5 separate regions of the Homo sapiens genome follow, and all the other regions are linked to region 3. Evidence: promoter capture Hi-C in human tissues and cell types (Jung and others, 2019). All regions are on one chromosome and are shown on one strand. The core of a region is centred on a gene start or on the middle of the fragment in contact, and the rest is flanking DNA. Distances in the headings are between cores, read along the strand shown. Region 1 overlaps MTRFR (mitochondrial translation release factor in rescue). Region 2 overlaps PITPNM2 (phosphatidylinositol transfer protein membrane associated 2). Region 3 holds the start of DDX55 (DEAD-box helicase 55). Region 4 overlaps ZNF664-RFLNA (ZNF664-RFLNA readthrough). Region 5 overlaps MPHOSPH9 (M-phase phosphoprotein 9).

Evidence for each region. The method cuts DNA at HindIII sites, captures the fragments that hold promoters and counts their contacts. A contact is called where the count stands out against the background at its distance.
Region 1: a fragment that was not itself captured here is called in contact with the fragment with the promoter of DDX55 in region 3 in 6 of the 25 tissues and cell types used here (aorta, bladder, dorsolateral prefrontal cortex and 3 more).
Region 2: a contact is called between a fragment that was not itself captured here and the fragment with the promoter of DDX55 in region 3, in 3 of the 25 tissues and cell types used here (dorsolateral prefrontal cortex, hippocampus and lymphoblastoid cells).
Region 4: a fragment that was not itself captured here is called in contact with the fragment with the promoter of DDX55 in region 3 in 1 of the 25 tissues and cell types used here (dorsolateral prefrontal cortex).
Region 5: a contact is called between a fragment that was not itself captured here and the fragment with the promoter of DDX55 in region 3, in 2 of the 25 tissues and cell types used here (adrenal gland and heart right ventricle).

The regions. Positions count from the first base shown.
Region 1 is chr12:123,257,340-123,261,071 of GRCh38, forward strand. It overlaps MTRFR (mitochondrial translation release factor in rescue), which reads left to right. Exons shown (of 3, transcript NM_152269.5): 3 at 1-621. CDK2AP1 (cyclin dependent kinase 2 associated protein 1) reads right to left here. Exons shown (of 4, transcript NM_004642.4): 4 at 3,637-3,732. Among named protein-coding and RNA genes, the nearest start is that of CDK2AP1, 13 kb to the right of the region's middle. The HindIII fragment of the contact is 6,691 bases long and covers 1-3,732 here.
Region 2 is chr12:123,142,761-123,146,777 of GRCh38, forward strand. All of the region lies in intron 1 of PITPNM2 (phosphatidylinositol transfer protein membrane associated 2), which reads right to left. Among named protein-coding and RNA genes, the nearest start is that of PITPNM2, 6.3 kb to the right of the region's middle. The HindIII fragment of the contact is 5,243 bases long and covers 1-4,017 here.
Region 3 is chr12:123,599,689-123,603,482 of GRCh38, forward strand. It overlaps DDX55 (DEAD-box helicase 55), which reads left to right and starts at 2,411. Exons shown (of 14, transcript NM_020936.3): 1 at 2,411-2,568. The coding sequence starts at 2,461. RefSeq lists a silencer at 2,773-2,882 and an enhancer at 3,123-3,172. The HindIII fragment of the contact is 15,410 bases long and covers 1-3,794 here.
Region 4 is chr12:123,978,192-123,981,681 of GRCh38, forward strand. All of the region lies in intron 2 of ZNF664-RFLNA (ZNF664-RFLNA readthrough), which reads left to right. The region is part of intron 2 of ZNF664 (zinc finger protein 664); the gene reads left to right. Among named protein-coding and RNA genes, the nearest start is that of ZNF664-RFLNA, 6.7 kb to the left of the region's middle. The HindIII fragment of the contact is 4,848 bases long and covers 1-3,490 here.
Region 5 is chr12:123,162,606-123,166,670 of GRCh38, forward strand. MPHOSPH9 (M-phase phosphoprotein 9) reads right to left here. Exons shown (of 24, transcript NM_022782.4): 17 at 4,050-4,065; 18 at 2,697-2,872; 19 at 1,345-1,485; 20 at 409-529. Among named protein-coding and RNA genes, the nearest start is that of PITPNM2, 14 kb to the left of the region's middle. The HindIII fragment of the contact is 3,703 bases long and covers 949-4,065 here.

The sequences.
Region 1 (3,732 bases), core at 255-2,754, 340 kb before region 3:
CCCCGTCTCTACTAAAAATACAAAAAATTAGCCAGGCATGGTGGCGGGCACCTGTAATCCCAGCTACTCGGGAGGCCGAGGCAGGAGAATTGCGTGAACCTGGGAGGCGGAGGTTGCAGTGAGCTGAGATCGCGCCACTGCACTCAAGCCTGGGCAACACCTGGGTGACAGAGCGAGACCCCATCTCAAAAAAAAAATAAAACTAGTTCAAGTGCAATGACACACGCCTATAATCCCAGCACCTTGGGAGGCTAAGACAGGAAGATCACCTGAGCCCAGGAGCTCAAGATTGCAGTGAGCTATGAACACCACTGCACTCCACCTGTCCACTTGTTCTTGTGTGACAGAACAAGACCCTGTCTCTAAAAAATAAGATAAAACCATAAAGAAACACAGTCAGTACTATACAAGAATAATGGCTACTTCTAGAGGGAAGGAGTTGTCATTGTGATGAGGCACTTGGAGGGGTTCTGGGGTGCCTGACAAAGTTCTGTTTCTTCACCTGGGTGGTAGTTAGAAGGGTGTCCCCGTATTTCAAATTGTACCTTTGTGAGATTGTATGTTTTGTAATAATAAAATTTTTTTTGTAATTAGTAAAGTCAATTTTTATGGAGAACTGGAGAATGGAGTCAAACATTAATAGCATTTCTTGGCAACTTGCCATCTGCTGGGAAGCTGCTGCCCAGTGACACTTAAAAGTCAGTTATCCCCATGTCAGCTCAAGACAGTAAGAGAAAACAAGGGCCGGGCATGGTGGCTCACGCCTGTAATCCCAGCACTTTGGGAGGCTGGGGCAGGCGGATCATGGAAGTCAGGAGTTTGAGACCAGCCTGACCAACATGGTGAAACCCCATCTCTACTAAAAATACAAAAATTAGCCAGGCGTGGCAGCACACGCTTGTAATCCCAGCTACTTGGGAGGCTGAGGCAAGAGAATTGCTTGAATCTGGGAGGCGAGGTTGCAGTGAGCCAAGATTGCGCCATTGCACTCCAGCGTGAGCAACAGAGCAAGACTGTCTAAAAAAAAAAAAAAAAAGAGAGAAAATAAGAGGGTTGGAAGAGCTAAAGGCTCTGTTCCTTGTCCATGTGCTCTATTAGCTTCTAGGCTGTATGATGCCCAGTTGTGCCTCTGATGTAGAAACAAACACATTCCCTGCACGTTGATTTGCAAGATTTGTAAAGGTGAGGTTCCAGAATCTGATTTGCTTGTAAATTTACGTCACTTAAGCTGGATTTTACCTTACAGTTGTTTTTCTTTTAAAGCCATGCTTTATAGCTTGGCTTGTTAGAACTCTTCTGGAGTCCACGTAGAAAACAAATAGGGAAAAATGCTGAGAGGTGAGAAAGCCATTGGGAGATTGCCAGTTGCAGGGCCTCAGTTGTGCAGTCTGTCCAGCAGGCCTAGGCGGCATGTCCAGTAGGCCTAGGTGGCATGTCCAGTGCATACATCCAAGCACACCTTTCTCTTTGAGGCTGCCAATGAAGGCTCTTCTCACCTCAGTGACAGCTTTGGATGCTTACACATTCAATGCAGGGCTCATTCTACACCTCCTGTTGCGAGTGTACAGGACCCTTCCCCAGCCCAAACGCCCTGTAGAAAATAAAGGCTCTAGAACAACACCTAAGAAACCAGTAAGAGTGGGAGGGGAAATTTGGAGCTGGAGATAAGGGAGAATGGTTTCCGTTTGTCTCCTCTCTCATACCTTTGCAACTTTCTGCCACATGCAGGAAGGGGACACAGCACCCATTTCGCTAGAGCCTGTTCCTGCTGGCCTTCAGCCTTGTCATGGCTGAGAATTCGCCTCATGCCTGCATCAAAGAAAGACAAGTCTCTCTCATTTGTCTTTGTCTACTGCTCAGCAAAGCAAATTCTCATTGCAGGTATTTAGGGCCTAAGGTATAGAGTAAGAATTAAAATCCCTTTGGGAGGCACTGTCAGAGACCACCACGTGGACTCTCAACACATCCAGTGCAGCCCATTTTTTCCCTGGCACCAGAGCAGATAATTCTTCCAGTGAGCACCATATGAAGTAGCTTGAAGTTAGGAGCCGTACTTTATGAAAAAGATTCCTGTAGCACCCACCAAAAGCCCACAGGATAAGCACCTACGAACTGAGAATGGCCTAACCATGGGGTAACAGGCCAACTCAATAATACTGCTTCTGGCCGGGCGTGGTGGCTCACGCCTGTAAACCCAGCACTTTGGGAGGCCAAGGCGGCTGGGTCACCTGAGGTCAGAAGTTGGAGACCAGCCTGACCAACATGGTAAAATCCCATCTCTACTAAAAATACAAAAATTAGCTGGGTGTGGTGGCACGCTCCTGTAATCCAGCTACTCGGGAGGCTAAGCTGGGAAAATCGCTTGAACCTGGGAGGCAGAGATTGCAGTGAACCAACATCAAGCCACTGCACTCTAGCCTAGGCAACAGAGGGAGATTCCATCTAAAAAAAAAAAAATTTTTTTTTTAAAAACTGCTGCTGCTATTTTTTTTTCCTAGCATACACTTAAGTTTGCTGCACTTAAAATACACCCATAATGCAACTTCACTTTATCCCTACCTCTGACTTAGCAAACACATTCTTTCCCCAGCCAACTGTGCTAATGATATCACCAAAATGTTTCCGTGTCAGATGGGAAAATACAGTTTGAACAGGCATCTCCTACCTCTTGTAAAAGGTAAAGTAGAGGTTCCTCTCCAAAGACTTTCCTCCCCATTTAATTTGGAATAAACGGTAACTTCTCTTCGAAGCAAAATTTATTCAAAGACCTGTGCTAACATTCCTAATTATCTGCTAGCCGTGGTAAAGAAATCAATGTACTTTATGTTCTTAGCTCCCACAATTTAGCCTAAATATTTGTCCTGGCATGCTTACACTGGTCGGAGCAAGCATTAGGTCATAGCCTGTTCCTCTTCCTTATTTAAAAGTGTTTACCTTTCTCACCATTCCACAAGTTACTTTCTCCTTCCTTTGTTCTCTTCTGCCTTCGCCTCTTTTAAAAAGTTTTAAGTTGCTTCCCAATCAGGACAAATACAGAATATGAGGTCCCGTTCCAGCCAATGGAAACCGGACACAGCAGTAGGGTGGACGCATCAGGTTACAAATGACCCTGTCTCTTTGTTCGGTGTACTCTCGTGGCAAAACTGCTGGCGAATGTACCCTTTCTGCGGGAAGTAAAAATGGCCTTGCTGAGTAAATTAAATTTATGTTCAAGTGCTATTTCTTCACGGCACCGGGGAACAAGCATTTCAAACACTTTCATGAGAGATTATTTAAAATAGCACTTCTTTACACCAGGCGTGGTAGCTCACACCTATAATCCCAGTACTTTGAGAGGCTAAGGTGGAAGGATCACTTGAGCCCAGGATCCAGCCTAGGCAACATAGTGAGACCTCATCTCTGCAAAAAAAATTTTTTTTCCATCACACACCCATTCATTCAATACAAAAAGTCTTTTAAAAATTATTCAGGCATAGTGGCACACACCTGTAGTTCCAGCCACTAGGGAGGCTGAGATGGGAGGATTGCTTGAGCCCAGGAGGTTGAGGCTGCGGTGAGCCAAGATTATATTACTGCACTCCAGCCTGGGTGGCAAAACAAGACCCTGTCTCAAAAAAATAAAACAGCACGTAAGAATTCAAGGAACCCACATTTTAATACAAATTGTTAATGAAAATAAGCTTTATTACATCAAGTAATAAATACATACAAAGATGCAAACAGTTTTAGTCA
Region 2 (4,017 bases), core at 218-2,717, 460 kb before region 3:
CCTGCTCCGTGAGCCTCACTTATGTGTGGTTTTCAAAGGATTTAAATGCTTTTTTCCAGTGTGATTACCCACATGGGAAAAATTCTAATTGCAAAAAATGTTGAGTTTTTCTCCCTCTTATGAAAAAAAAAAAAAAGCAAGTGAAAAGTCAACTGTTATAAAGTACCAAGGAAAGCACTTAAATGGGCCCTTCAGTGTGAGAGGAAGAATGTCCTCCTGTTCTCCAGAGCACCGTCGCCAAGCCAGTGTTAAGCACGCATCCACACCTGTGGGGAAGCCCTGCCTCTCAGACAACCTCACGCCACTGATGAAAGCTGGGAATAGCCACCTATTTCTACCCTGACACACCCATCCCTATCCCCCTCCCCCCTCCCTCGATCCCTCCCTCCAAGGGGCTGTCTAGAGAGACAGCAGAGGGTGGAGCCAGCAGCACCCATAACAAGCTCTCCCACTGGCTCACCACCTCATGCAGGACACTGGTGCCCAGTGAGCCCTCCCTAGGGGGCTGGGAAGCCCAAGGGCCTGATTCTAATCCCAGGAGGACAACAGAAGCAAAGTGCACAGCCCTGCTCCACAGCACAGCCTGTGAGTCAGACTTGGAAGGGAAGCCCCCCAGCTGCCAAAAGAGAAAATTCAGGCCCTCCCCAGGAGCCACCTCTCAAAAGGGGAAATAAACAGCTCTGCAGAGGAGAAACAGTAATAATCCGTATGACGTACGTACGAACTCTTAAGAGGGCACACAACAGGCAAAAGACTTGGGAAAGCTTCCTCTGAGAGAGCCCAGGCATAAGAAGGCCACAATTTGAGGCATGGGGGCCCCAGGAACCCCCCATCTTGGCCTGAAACACCTCCGTAAGAGGATTATTCCTTTGGGAGAAGGATTGGTCTCAGCTCCTAAGAAAGGCCAAGTCTATTGCAGGGCTGCCGCCAGAACCCACTGCATGAAAGTACAGGGTCCCTCCTACCTGTAGACTTGAGCAGAGAGAGATGGGCACCATTCTGCTGGCAGCAGCCCTTCTAGAAGAAGCTACAGCAGGGCTGAGGGAGGACAGCTTGTCTTTCTGTAGCACCTAAGACAAGCAAACACAAGAATCTGCCCACAGCCTCATCCCGCAGCTCCAGTCTTCATCCATTAAGTACCATCAGCATTGTGAGGTGCCCTGAGCTAGGCTGGATACACCGTGGGGGCTGACATGATGCCAAAGGTGGCAGATCCTCACTATCCATGGATTCCATATTTGTGAATTACCCTAGTCACTAAAATTTATCTGTAACCCCAAAATCAATGCTCATGGTGCTTTCAAATTCATTTTCAAATTTGTGCAAATTGGCAAAAAATTTGAGTTGCCTGATGGCACATTCCCTGCTGAGGTTGAACGAGGGGACATCCTCTATCTTCCCATCTCAGCTCTCCTAATGGAAACACGTGTCCTTTTTGTGGTCTGTGCAGTGCCACATTTTTGGCACTTGTGTGCTTTGTGTTGGTGATTTTGCTGTTTGGAATGGCCCCCAATCACAGTGCTGAGGTGCAGTCTAGTTCTTGGGTGCAAGATGATTATGATGTGCAGAGAAAATCTCTTGTGTTAGAGAAGCTTCATTCAGACATGAGTCACAGTGTTGATGGCCAGGAGTTTAATGTTAATGAATCAATGATACATATTAAATAGGGTGTCTTTTTTGTTGTTGTTTTGAGACAGAGTCTCACTCTGTCGCCAGGCCAGAGTGCAGGGGCACGATCTCGGCTCACTGCAACCTCCACCTCCTGGGTTCAAGCAATTCTCCTGCCTTAGCCTCCTGAGTAGCTGGGATTACAGATGGACACCACCAAACCCAGCTAATTTTTGTATTTTTAGTAGAGATGGGGTTTCACCATGTTGGCCAGGATGGTCTCGATCTCTTGACCTCATTATCTGCCCACCTCGGCCTCCCAAAGTGCTAGGATTACAGGCATGAGCCACTGTGCCCAGCCAATTTTTGTATTTTTAGTAGACACAGGGTTTCACCATGTTGGCCAGTCTGGTCTCGAACTCCTGACCTCAGGTAATCCACCCGCCTCGGCCTCCCAAAGTGCTGGGATTATAGGCATGAGCCACCATGCCCGATCTCTTTTAACAGAAACATATATAAAATAAGATTACATATGGATTGGTTAAAGAAAATATTGTCCCCGCAGGCTCAAAGGAGCCTAACCCTGTGTTTTCCCTAGGAGCAGTGGTTCAGTGTTCACTAACTCAGTGTTTGAAGAGGGACTTTATAGAACATAACTATGTTAGCCAGCGTGGTGCACAAGTCTGTAGTCCCAGCTACTCAGGAGGCTGAGGCAGGAGGATCATTGGGCCCAGGAGTTTGAAGCTGCAGTGAGCAATGATTGCACCACTGCACTCCAGCCTGGGAGACAGAGAGAGACCCTGTCACAAAAAATAAAAAAAGAAGAACCTAACTATGGCCAACAATATGAATCAAATAACTATGCATACATGTATGCATAGTCAGGATATACTTTCCTCAGACAGAGCTATTCCACCCTACATTCATGTGCTCCTAAGGCTGCAGGTTGGCATGTCCACACCCAATAGGGAGTTTGAGCTGTCAGCTTCTGCTCCAAGGCTGGAATCAGCCTTGAGGTCTCTTGGGTCCTGCTGCTGCTCTGATAACACTCTGCCTTTTCCCTGGACCCATGACTCCCGCTGACGTCCCTGATCATGACCTCTGATCTTTCTGACTAGCCAGGTCTTAATAAGACCCCTTTCCACAATAGAGATAAGGGACTTCAGAGGCAATGGCACTCAAGGAAAAGCTTTATGAAGAATGGGGAACTTCAACAAGGAGAGTGTGAAACTGATTTTTCCATGCTCTCTCTCCAAGGTTGTCTTGGGTTTTTGATTTGTCTGTTACCGGAAACCTGCCTGTTGGTTAATCTCCTTTGTGTCCTCTAGCAAGGGCAGTTGTTAATATAAGTAATTTGGCCAGCCACAATGGCTCACACCTCAAGAGGACTGCTTGAACCTGGGAGTTCCAGACCAGTCTGGGCAACATAGCAAGACGTCGTCTCTACTAAAAATATCGTTCTATCATAAAGATACAGGCACACGTATGTTCATTGCAGCACTATTCACAATAGCAAAGACATGGAATCAACCTAAATGCCCCATCAATGGTAGACTGGAAAAGAAAATGTGGTATATATACACATAGTATAGAATACTATACAGTCATAAAAAAGAATGAGATCATGTCCTTTGCAGGAACATGGATGAAACTGGAGGCCATTATTCTTAGCAAACTAATGAAAGAACAGAAAACCAAACACCACAAGTTCTTACTTATAAGTGGGAGCTAAAGGTGAGAACACACGGACACATAGAGGGGGGTAACACACACTGGGACTTATTGGAGGGTGGAGGGTGGGAGGAGGGAGAGGATCAGGAAAAATAACTAATGGGTACTAGGTTTAGTACCTGAGTGATGAAATGATCTGTATAACAAGCCCTCATGACACAAGTCTACCGACACAACAAACCTGTGCTTGTACCCCTGAACTTAAAAGTTAACAGCTGGGCGTGGTGGCTCATGTCTGTAATACCAGCACTTTGGGAGGCCAAGGTGGGCGGATCACTGGAGGTCAGGAGTTCGAGACCAGCCTGGCCAACATGGCAAAACCCATCTCTACTAAAAATACAAAAATTAGCCCGGTGTGGTGGTGGGCGCCTGTAATCCCAGCTACCCAGGAGGCTGAGGCAGGAGAATCGCTTGAATCTGGGAGGCAGAGGTTGCAGTGAGCCAAGATCACATCATTGCACTGCAGCCTGGGCAACAAGAGCGAAATTCCATCTAAAAATAATAATAATTTTTAAAAAATACAATAAAAGTTTAAAAAAAAAAAAGAGTAAGCAAATGCCAGCCTGCCCCTCCTAACAGCACTCGTCGTGTCTTTGACCATAAATGTTTAGCAGAGGTTTGTCCTGGTGTTGCTAGGTTGGGCGTGAGGAGGTCAATGCTCCATACTCATTTCACAGG
Region 3 (3,794 bases), core at 1,161-3,660:
ATTCAACTGAAAATAGGCAGATTAATAGGAGGAAAGTGATACAAATTTATTCGGTCATGCTTTTACATGACAAAGGAACCTTCAGAATTAAGACCCAAAGTTACAGGGAAAACTATTTTTATGCTTAGGCTCAACAAAATATGCACAGCTGAGTAGAAATAGGACTGGACAAGAAGGGCATGATCTAATGCTCATAGACTGAGTGGGGAAGCCCAGCGAGGCCTGTCTGGATTCTTTCCTTCTGGATAGGGGAAAGAACCCTTCCTGGAATGGGGTCTTACAACCTACCAGCAAAACAAAGGAGGTCAGATACATTTTTTTTTTTTTTGGAGACAGTCTCTCTCTGTCACCCAGGGTGGAGTGCGGTGGCGCGATCTTGGCTCACTGCAGCCTCCGCCTCCCGGGTTCAAGCAATTCTCCTGCCTCAGCCTCCCAAGTAGCTGGGAATACAGGCGCACGCTGCCACATCTGGCTAATTTTTTTTTGTATTTTTAGTAGAGACGGGATTTCACCGTCTGGTCTCGAACTCCTGAGCTCAGGCAATCTGCCCGCCTTGGCCTCCAAAAGTGCTAGGATTACAGGTGTGAGCCACCACGTCTGGCCTTTTTTTGTTTGTTTGTTTGTTTGTTTGTTTGTTTTTTGAGACTGAGTCTCACTCTGTCGCCCAGGCTGGAATGCAATGGTGCGATCTAGGATTACTGCAGCCTCCACTTCTCAGGTTCAAGCGATGCTTGTAGCTCAGCCTCCGGAGTAGCTGCAGGCACCTGCCACCACACCTGGCTAATTTTTTGTATTTTTAGTAGACAGGGTTTCACTACGTTGGCCAGGCTGGTCTCAAACTCCTTACCTTAGGTGATCCGCCTGCCTCAGCCTCCCAAAGTGCTGGGATTACAGGCATGAGCCACCGCACCTAGCCCAGATAATTTCTTTTTCTTTTTTTTTTTGAGACTGAGTCTCGCTTTGTCACCCACGCTGGAGTGCAGTGGCGCAACCTCCACCTCCCTGGTTCAAGCGATTCTTCTGCCTCAGGCTCCTGAGTAGCTGGGACTACAGGCATGCGCCACCACGCCTGGCTAATTTCTGTATTTTTAGTAGAGACGGGGTTTCACCATATTGGCCAGGCTGGTCTCGAACTCCTGACCTTGAGATCTGCCCGCTTTGGCCTCCCAAAGTGGTGAGATTACAGGCGTGAGCCACCGTGCCAGGCCAATAATTTCTTTATGGCCAGTTTTTTCACAGAAAGGTGGAGAGAGAGTAATATTTTTAGGTTTTATGGCTGACTGTGGAGAAAAGGGATTCCTGTTTCTATGCTCCGTCATGGGCAAGAGGGATTCTTGAGTTTCTATGGCTAGCCTCAGAGAATCAGAGATCAGAGAGGGAGCAGAAGGTCAGAGAGAAACTTGCTTCTGAGGCTGCCTCTGGGGCCTTCATTTTGGGGTTTCGTTTTCAGAGCCTCAACAGGAGCAAGCCATGCACATAGGTGGAGGAGATAGGCCCTCATAGAGGGCACATAATGAGTGGTCAATAAAAGTTTGCTGAGTGAAGGCCGGGCGCGGTGGCTCACGCCTGTAATCCCAGCACTTTGGGAGGCCGAGGCGGGCGGATCACGAGGTCAGGAAATCGAGACCATCCTGGCTAACACGGTGAAACCCCGTCTCTACTAAAAATACAAAAAATTAGCCGGGCGTGGTGGAGGGCGCCTGCAGTCCCAGGTACTCGGGAGGCTGAGGCAGGAGAAGGGCGTGAACCCGGGAGGCGGAGCTTGCAGTGAACCGTTATAGCGCCCAGCCTCCAGCCTGGGCAACAGAGCGAGACTCCGTCTCAAACAACAACAACAACAACAACAACAACAAAAACAGCTTTCTGAGTGAAGTTGTATGTGGACATGAATGGCCCAGGCAAACAGTGAACAGAGGAATGGGACAGTGTTCTTAGTTAGGACTCTGACCCTAACTTCCGGGAAAGTAAACCAACATTCAGGACGTACCGGCCATCGGACCGCAACATTCAGGACGTACCGGCCATCAGCGGGTGCCTGTTTTGCAGGGCTGCTAACCCGGGTCCCCGACACGTTTCTCTGCCCACGGTAGCCAGCCCCGCTGTCCTTCGGCCTGGACGCGGTCCTGTGCTGCCACCTGCCTCCGAGGGGCAGAGAAAGTGGGAGGGCCGGGCCAGAATCCCTCCCGCCAAAACTCCTGCCCGGTGCGGAGAGGCGCCCGGAGCCCAGGGCGCTGTGCGGAGCGGGTGTAACTCCCCAGGCCTGCCCCGCCGCCTGCCTCCACCGTCCCGCGGACGCCTTTCCTCCCTCCCGCGGCGTGGGAGCCTTCGCCGCGCTCCGGAACTCTGCTGCTCCAGCGAAGTTCCCGGCCGGCCGCTGGAGCTGCGGGAAGCGGAAGTGCTCGTTGGGGGTGCACAAGGCGCGTTCGAGCAGCGGCGACCGACGCGGCGAAGGAGCGCGCCATGGAGCATGTGACAGAGGGCTCCTGGGAGTCGCTGCCTGTGCCGCTGCACCCGCAGGTGCTGGGCGCGCTGCGGGAGCTGGGCTTCCCGTACATGACGCCGGTGCAGGTATCGGTTCCCTGGCGTGGGGGAGTGAGGCTGGGAGAGGGGCAGGCACCCGCTGCATCGGACCCACAGGAGGTGATCGGACAGATCTGAGCCCTGGGGCGCTCATCCCTCCAGCTGGGGCTCTTGCCTTGTCTCCAGCTGCCCAGACTGGCGGAATGCGGAGCTGCCCGGCCAGCGAGCCGGCAGAGGGGCCGCGACCCACCCCGCCCTCGGGTGCTGTGGTCTCAAGCCTGGTTCTCATCCTGGCCCTGCTCGCTGTAGCTGTGAGACCTCGGGCAAATGGCTTAACCTCTCCGTGCTTCATTTTCCTTCTCTGTGAAATGACGAAAAAATAACACCCTCCTTATGGGGTTGCTGTGGGGACTAAATAAACCAGTCGGCACACTATGGGAGCTCAGTAAGGGTTACCGTTGTTATGCATCTCTTCAAGAATATTTCTTGAGGACCTGCTATGTGTCAGGAACTCTTCTAGGCTCTGGGGAGTTTGCAGTATTGGCATCTGCTCATAGCCTTACTTTCTAGTGCAAGAGCTAGAGAAAGGATAATTTCAGCTGCTGGTAAGTGTTATGAAAGAACTAAGACGGTTGTGATAGTGTCGCGCGAGGACTGCAGAGGAGGTGAGATAGGGTGTTAAGGAAGGCCTCTCTGAGGAGGTGCATTGAGCTGAGACCTCAGTGATTGAGAAGGAGCTGGCTCTGAGGTGACTAGGGGGAGATTATTCCACTGGAGAGAAATACCAGTGCACATAAATGCCCTGCGGCAGGCTGCAAATAGTTTGAGCAGCAGAAAGGAGGCCTTTGTGGCTGAACATCAAGAGTAGTGTAAGAGATGGATTGTGCAGGGTCTTGTAGGCGCTTGGATTTCATTCTAAATGTAGTGGGAAGCCATCTTATCTGGGAGGATGTTTAGGAAGGGAAGGGCTGTGATTTCTCTGTAGAGAGTGGCCTTTCCAGGCATAAGAGATGAAGCAGGCAGGTCGCTTAGGAGGCCATTGTCAGGTAAGAGATGATGGTGACTTGGAGTAGGGTGGAACCAGTGGATACTGAGAAGTCACATTTGGGATAGCTTTAAGGTTGCTAAGGGACTGGAAGTGGAGGTTAGGAAAGAAAAGACTACAGGACCTGAGGTTTTTATTCTTTTTTTTTTTTTTTTTGAGATGGAGTCTCGCTCTGTTGCCCAGGCTGGAGTGCAGTGGCGCGATCTCGGCTCACTGCAACCTCCGCCTC
Region 4 (3,490 bases), core at 423-2,922, 380 kb after region 3:
GTGGAAAATATTTGTGGCAAATGATAAGCTAAGAGTTAGTATTTTCAATATGCAAAGAACTCATCCAAATTGGTGAAGAAAATAATGAAGATCCACACACAGGTGGTTATAGGATGTGAATAGACAGTTCGCTGGATAGAAATATAACTTGTGAAACATTGGAAAAGCTGTGTAATTCATTAATAATCAAATCACTAATTACCGTATAGAAAAGTTAGATTCTGTTCTGAATAGCAGCAAAACTAGAAAACATTTACAAGTAAGACATAAATGTACCAAAGCTTTATGAAGAGAAGTAAAAACTTTTACCTAAATGATTTAAAAGCTAACCTAAATAAATGGGCAGACTTGTTCCTGGAGGGGAAGGCATCATTGTAGATTGCAGTACCTCCAAATTAAACTATGATTTCAATGTAATTACAATTGAAATCCCAGTGGGAATTCTTCTGGACACTAGATAAATTGCTTCTAAAACTCTTTTATAGGAGTAAATGTCCTAGAATGGCCAAAAAATGACAAACGTTTTTAATGGAAAAGTAGTGTTGGGGGATTTGCTATATGAGAAGTCAAAGCATACTGAAATGCTGCAGTAATATAAATGGTGAACACAAGAATAGACAGATTGACGCCTGGAGCAAAGTAGAATCCAGTAACAGACCCATTTTTATATCAGAATTTAGTATATGATAAAGTTGGTGTTTTGCAACAGTTGGGAAATTATAATTCAGTGTGTTGTATAGGGATAAGTGGCTCTTTATTTAGAAAGAAAGATCCTACTTCACATTCAAAATAACTTAGATGGATTAAGGAACTAACTAAAAAAACCTATAAAAGCATTAGAAGGAAATATAAGAGAATTTGTTATGTAGAAGGATACACTGGAAATGATGTGTTTTAGGTAGGCCATTTAGGTAAGACCAAGACCTAAAATCATAAATGAAAGGATTGATAAATTTGACTATAATCACAGTTGATAATTCTGTGACAAAAAGCGTTACAGAGTGACAGACTGGGAAAACAACCTGTAGCATGTATAAAGAATAAATAGAATTAACAAATTAGGTAATGAATTGAGGATATGAATAGTTCTTAGATAAATGTGTTCAAACAGTGAAGAGAAATTCAACCTCATTGTGATTAAGAGAATGGAAATTTAAAAACTAGATTTTTTTGTTGGGAGGAGGGCATCAGGCAAAAATTAAAAACTATCCAGCGATGTAAAAGAGGCACCTAATACATTGTTGGGACATAAAATTTTTCCAAGTTTTTAGATGGCAATTTTGGCAGAATTTTATCAAAATAAAAGTACACGTTGATTTAGCAGCTACACTTCAAGGAATCTGTGCTATTTTCATAGGAGAACATACGTTAATATAAACAATGTCTATTGCAGCGTCATTTATAATGAAAAATTGAAGATAATCACAATAAATTTTGGTACCCATATACTGTGGAATATCAAGTAGCGTTTTGTTTTTTGTGGGATTTTTTGTTTGTTTTGTTTTGAGACAGGGTCTTGCTCTGTTGCCTAGGCTGGAGTGCAGTGGTACGGAATGTGGTTCAGTGTAGCCTCAGCCTCCTGGGCTCAAGTGATCTGCCTCAGCCTCTCAAGTAGCTGGGACCACACACACACACACACACCACTACACCTGGCTGATTTTTAAATTTTTTTTGTAGAGACGGAGTCTCACCACGTTACCCAGGCCAGTCTTGAACTCCTGGCCTCAAGTGATCCTCCCGCCTTGGCCTCCCAAAGTGTTGGGATTACAGGCATGAGCCACCATGTCTAGCCTATTAGTTTTTTATATAGAGAGGTAGATTTGTATGTACTGACATAGCCTGTATGGATGTCTAGAATATACTGTTGAGCCAAAAAAGCAAGCTTAATCTCATTTTTTGTAAGATACAAAACAAAATAATGAAGGGTGAGTGTGTGTATATATATATATTCTGAATAAGAATTAGAAAAAGACTAGAATACCTGAAAACATTTAATTCTGATTACTTCATGGGAAAAGCCTAGGGGAGACTGGTTTTTCATATCACATGTGTTTGCATTGCTTCAGTTTTTTTTACAATGGGCATTTACTTTTGTAAGGAAGATGTTACAATTTCTCACCAATTTCATGAAGGTCTAGATTTAGACAAAAATATACAGTGCCTAGTACCTAAAAGGATGTGGTAAAAATGACACACTCTTATGTTACATTGGCCATATGTGTCAAGAGTCTTAAAATTATTTACATTTCTTGATGGTCTAGGAACCATCAAAAGAATATTTTTAAATACAGAGAAAAGCTTTCTGCACAAAATATGTATATTGTAGAATTATATTTATGGGCACAGTTTGCAGAATGGTTATGATACATCCCCTATATCATATATTTAGTGGCAAATAACATTGCCATTAAAAACGTTTATGAAGAAAATATATTAAAATGCTTATGATAGTGTTAAGTGGAAGGAAATCAGGATACACAATTGTATACCTGATATGATGAAAACGCCCCAAAAAAAGTCCCAGCAGCCTTCCAGTAAAACCTATGAATGGCAAAAATATGTAGAAGAAATTAGATGGAAATCTTAAGAATTGTGGAATTCGGTAGGATGTCGGGTGATTTAAATAATCTTTTTTGTATTTGCCAAGATTACATGTACCTGTATTACATGTATGATGGAACATTTGATTTAACAAAGTATATCTGGGACATGATAGCTACATGGCAAATAGACATGAGCACTTTTTTTTTTGGTTAAAGCCAATGAATAAATTTGGAATTTACACTGAAAATGATTGGGACCCATTGAAAACTTGTGAGTAGGGTAAGAACAATCCATTTTGCATTTTAGAAGGTTACATTAGAGTAGATAATGGATTAGAGGGAAGCAAGACTGGAGGCTTTTGTAGAATTCCAGGGAAGATGATGGTGGCTTGAGTTAAGTTGAGACAATGCAGGTACACAGTGGAGAGTTTCCAGAGGTATTTGGAAGAGAGTGGCTAGACCTTTGTGATGGGGGGAAGTCAATGATATTGACTTGGGCAATTGAGGGGAGAGTGGACTCATTTACTATAGTTGGGAATTGGCTATGGTTTGAATATTTGTCCCCTCCAAAACTCATGTTGAAACTTAATCCCCAATGTGACAGTGTTGAGAGGTGGGGCCTTTCAGAGGTTTGGCTCATGAGGGCAGAGCCATTCATAGATTAATGGGTTGTCATGGGAGGGGACCTGGGGGCTTTATAAAAAGAAAAGAGATCTGAGACAGCATGTTAACATGCTCAGCCCCCTCTCATCGTGTGATGCCCTGTGCCGGCTCAGGGCTCTTTGGAGAGTCCCCACCAGCAGGAGAGCTGTCACCAGATGTGGTCCTGGGCTTTTTCAGCCTCCATAACTGTAAGAGATAAATTTCTTCATAAATTATCCAGTTTCAGGTATTCTCTTGTAAGCAATAGAAAACAGATTAAGACAGGAATATAGTAGGCTTTGGTG
Region 5 (4,065 bases), core at 1,550-4,049, 440 kb before region 3:
AGCTGCCCACACTTCGGAGGGGACAGATTCTCAGCAGCACAGGTAAACATGCATTTGGTGCCAGGGCCATACCAGTAAAGCCCACTTTCCTGTACAAATGGCCCAAAAGTTTTCCCGTATCATAAACCTTTTCAGGAAAACAAAGAACTATCATTCTACATACAAAAGCTGACAGGGGTGCTGAGGTGATAATTTAAAATCTAGTAGTAGCAAGTTTACATAGTTAAAAACTGTGTTCATTGTACTGCAGTACTTTAGTTGTAGTATGACATTCACTTATGATTTAAATGAAATTCACAGAGTTCCCACTGGTAACTGAAAAATTAGTGATAGCTAGAGACATAAGTCAACATTTAGAAAAAAATCACTAATATAGTAAACTTTATTCTACAATTTTAGAGAACTTACCGAATTGGACTGCTCTCATTTTTGCTAAGCAGATGACTAAATCCTGGGGACAAGTTTTCTTTAGGGGATCGCTTTGGACTATAAGCCACAGTCACTGGTGTTAGCATAATCTCTCTTTTTGCTATAGAAGAAAATGAAGAGGAAATATTCTTTTCCTTCTATATGTATCAGCATAACAGTTTCTTATTCAGTATTTTTTTTCTAATTTTGAAAGGAATATAATTTCAACGTAAAACTTTGAGAGAGAAATAAGAGTGTACAAAAAAATAAAATCACTCATAATCCTAACACCTAGAGGTAACCACTGTAACACTGTAGTATATCAGACAGTACTTTCAGCACTCTGACTCAAAACTGGTTTTTCAGGATTTTAGAAGTCGACTGGAAATAAGATGGAAACAGCAGTACACTACTGAACATTCCTATAACACAATAATAAGAATCTCCTCAGCTGGTGTGAAAACGGAAATTCAGGACAGGAATTCAATGCTTCAACTTTAAAACCAACCTGTTATTGGCTAAAGAAAAATGGTGACTAATGCTAAGTACTTGAGATCAAATACATAAGAAGTATATTTGAGACTAGCTTGGATTAATTTGATTGAATTAATGTTTGGATAGCTGGCATTTTTAAGTATTAGTTGCAAACAATTTAGTGGACACAATAAATTATTAGTATTAGTTGTAAACAATTTACTGGACACAATAAAAAATCTCACTTTAATAAACAGATTTCTTCATTTACATTTGTAGTATCTATGTGATCAGACAATTTTATTTATGAACAAGATCTTATTTAGGGGTCCTCTGCTCAGAGTACTCTACTAGGTGCTGAGGATACAAGAGAAACCAGAAACAGGCAAGCAGCGGGCACAAATAGATTTGACTCAGAGATCACGCTTTTGAACCCAAGAGATGTACACATCTAACTCTTACTTGGAGTACTTGATTTACGATTTGAAGGTGGTAAAGATGATGATCTCTGTGAGGCCGAATTAAGTCTCTTTTGTCTCTGTTGGGCACACTTTTCTGGAGAACGACTTGCATTAACTGAAGTTTCAGTTTGCCGAGGATTTACTACAGCAGACCAAAAAAAAGCAAAACAAAAAACAAATCAAAACAAGCCTACGCTTCAGTTATCCACCTTTATTAACAGGTGGTTACACATGGTTACACACCAAGCCCCACAGCTTAGGTTCTGCTCAAAGCATTTATTCTCACCAGCTAGGTTATAGTGACTATTTGCAAATGCACCACATTATAATGATAAAAAATGCTTGATGAAGAAAAATATGGGAGTTTATAATGAATTCATTCTGGCTCCCTGTTTACAATCGGCATTCAAGGTGATTTTCAAGAGGGTTATTTTTAGAAAGCAGGTTACTAATTTATTTACTAAGAGACACTGCTTGGGAGATGTAACCGCAAAGACGCTGGCAGGATGACTAAGGGGTCTGAGAAAGCAAGCATAGTGGAAAAGGAGAGAAATGTATTGGTGACCTGGACCTGTGAAAAAACACAGTATTAAAGACACTACTTGCCTTATCTACAGATGCTCAGTAACCAAGAAAGAAGAGGAAATGTTATATCTCACTTCATGAATACCAAATGCCTATCACAGCCTTCTGATGTGTGCAAGTAAGATGGACTGACAGGAATTTTTCAAATATCCTTAGGAATGCCATGTAAGGCCAGGAGCAGTGGTTCACGCCTGTAATCACAACACTTTGTGTTTACACTTTGTGTTGTGTTGTGGAGGACAAGGCGGGTGGACCACTTGAAGCCAGGAGTTCGAGACCAACCTGGCCAACATGGTGAAACTCCGTCTCTGTTAAAAATATTAAAATTAGCCGGGGGTGCTGGAGGGCACCTGTAATTCTAGGTACTTGAGAGGCTGAGGCAGGATGATAGCTTGAACCCTGGAGATGGAGTTTGCAGTGAGCTGAGATTACGCACTGCACTCCAGCCTGGGCAAAAGAGTGAGACTCTGTCTCACTGTCTCAAAAAAAAAAAAAAAAAAAAAAGAATGCCATGTAAGCCTTTTTCATAATCGGAATGTAAGATTCAACTGGCTTTGTACAAAAGGTACATGTTATGCCAGAACTGTGATAAATTATTAACTAGGACATTCAATTCTCTATGAAACGGGGCTGAAGTAGCAGTAAAATAGCAAGTTTACAGAGCTAAAACTTTTAATTTCATTACCTAAATATTTTAATTTTAACGAAGGTAATATAAATGGGGAAAAGATATCTATATCCATCTATCTCAAACAAGGAAATACTCACTATTTGAGGTGTCCTCTTTCTCTGTCTGTGTCCCCCAATTTTTAAATATTTTTCCCTCATCAAGTTCTTTTAAAGCTCTCATGATCGGCGTGTCTGAAGTCTCTCTTTGCTTTTTTATCAACAAGCTTGTTGATGAACTTCCAGGTGAAGAATCCTTTTCCAGAGGTGAACGGTGCCTTAAACAATAATTTTAAGACATACAGTGCTATGGACTAAATGTCTGTATCTTGCCCCCCGCCCCCACACCAAACATACATGTTGAAGCCCTAATCTTCAATGTGATGGTGTGTGGAGGTGGGGTCTTTACGAGGTAATTAGGGTTGGATGAGGTCATGAGGGTGAAGCCTCCAAGATGGGATTAATGCCCTTATGAAAAAGGGAAAGAGGCAGGAGCGCTCTCTCTGTGCACACACACCAAGGAAAGGCCATGTGAGGACATAACCAGGAAGAGGGCCCTCACCAAACACTCAGCACCCTGATCTTGCACTTCCAGCCTCCAGAGGTAGAGAAAGAAATGTGTGTTGTTTATGCCACCCAGTCTACGGTAATTTGTTATAACAGTCCAAGCTAAAACACACACTTTACTGGGGTTGTTAGGGGAATAACAGAGTTGACAATTATACTCCACAATGAGCATGCTTTGCAATGCAAATAAATTAAACCTGCATACAGTGCTTTCCCATCCTTCTAGTCCTACACTTAGAGGAACAGCATCTGCACAGCACCCTGGAGTAAGCGGCTGAGGCTGCTCACGCAGGCTCGGGGCTCGGGCTGGCCAGAGCCATCTGAAGTGGGAGAGGATCTACATCTTTTGTTTGTTTTTAGACAAGGTCTCACTCTGTCACCCAGGCTGGAGTGCAGTGGCACAATCATAGCTCACTGTAGCCTTGAGCTCCCCAGGCTCAAGTAATCCTCCCACCTCAGCCTCCCAAGTAGCTAAAACTACAGGCGCATGTCACCATGCCCGGCTAATATATTTATTTTTTGTAGAGGTGGGATTTTGTCATGCTGCCCAAGCTGGTCTCGAACTCCTAGGCTCAAGCGATCCTCCACGTTGGCCTCCCAAAGTGTTGGGATTACAGGCGTGAGCCACCACACCTGGCCTGAGGATCGACATCCTATCCTAATCACAAACCCATACTGTGCCACTGAGCACAGGTGGGGAAGCTTGGCAGAGCTCATGGAAGTAAAATATTCTAAAAGTAGTAGCCTTTCAAAGTAAAATAAAAGTCAGGTTCTCAAAATTAAGACATTAAAGAACCAAAGAGAGGGCTTCCCAAACTTTTAAAAGCAATTGAAATCTCTAAGAAAACATAACATCCCTAAATAGAATCTTTAGCAAAGTTATCTCACCCTAGGCTACAGGTTT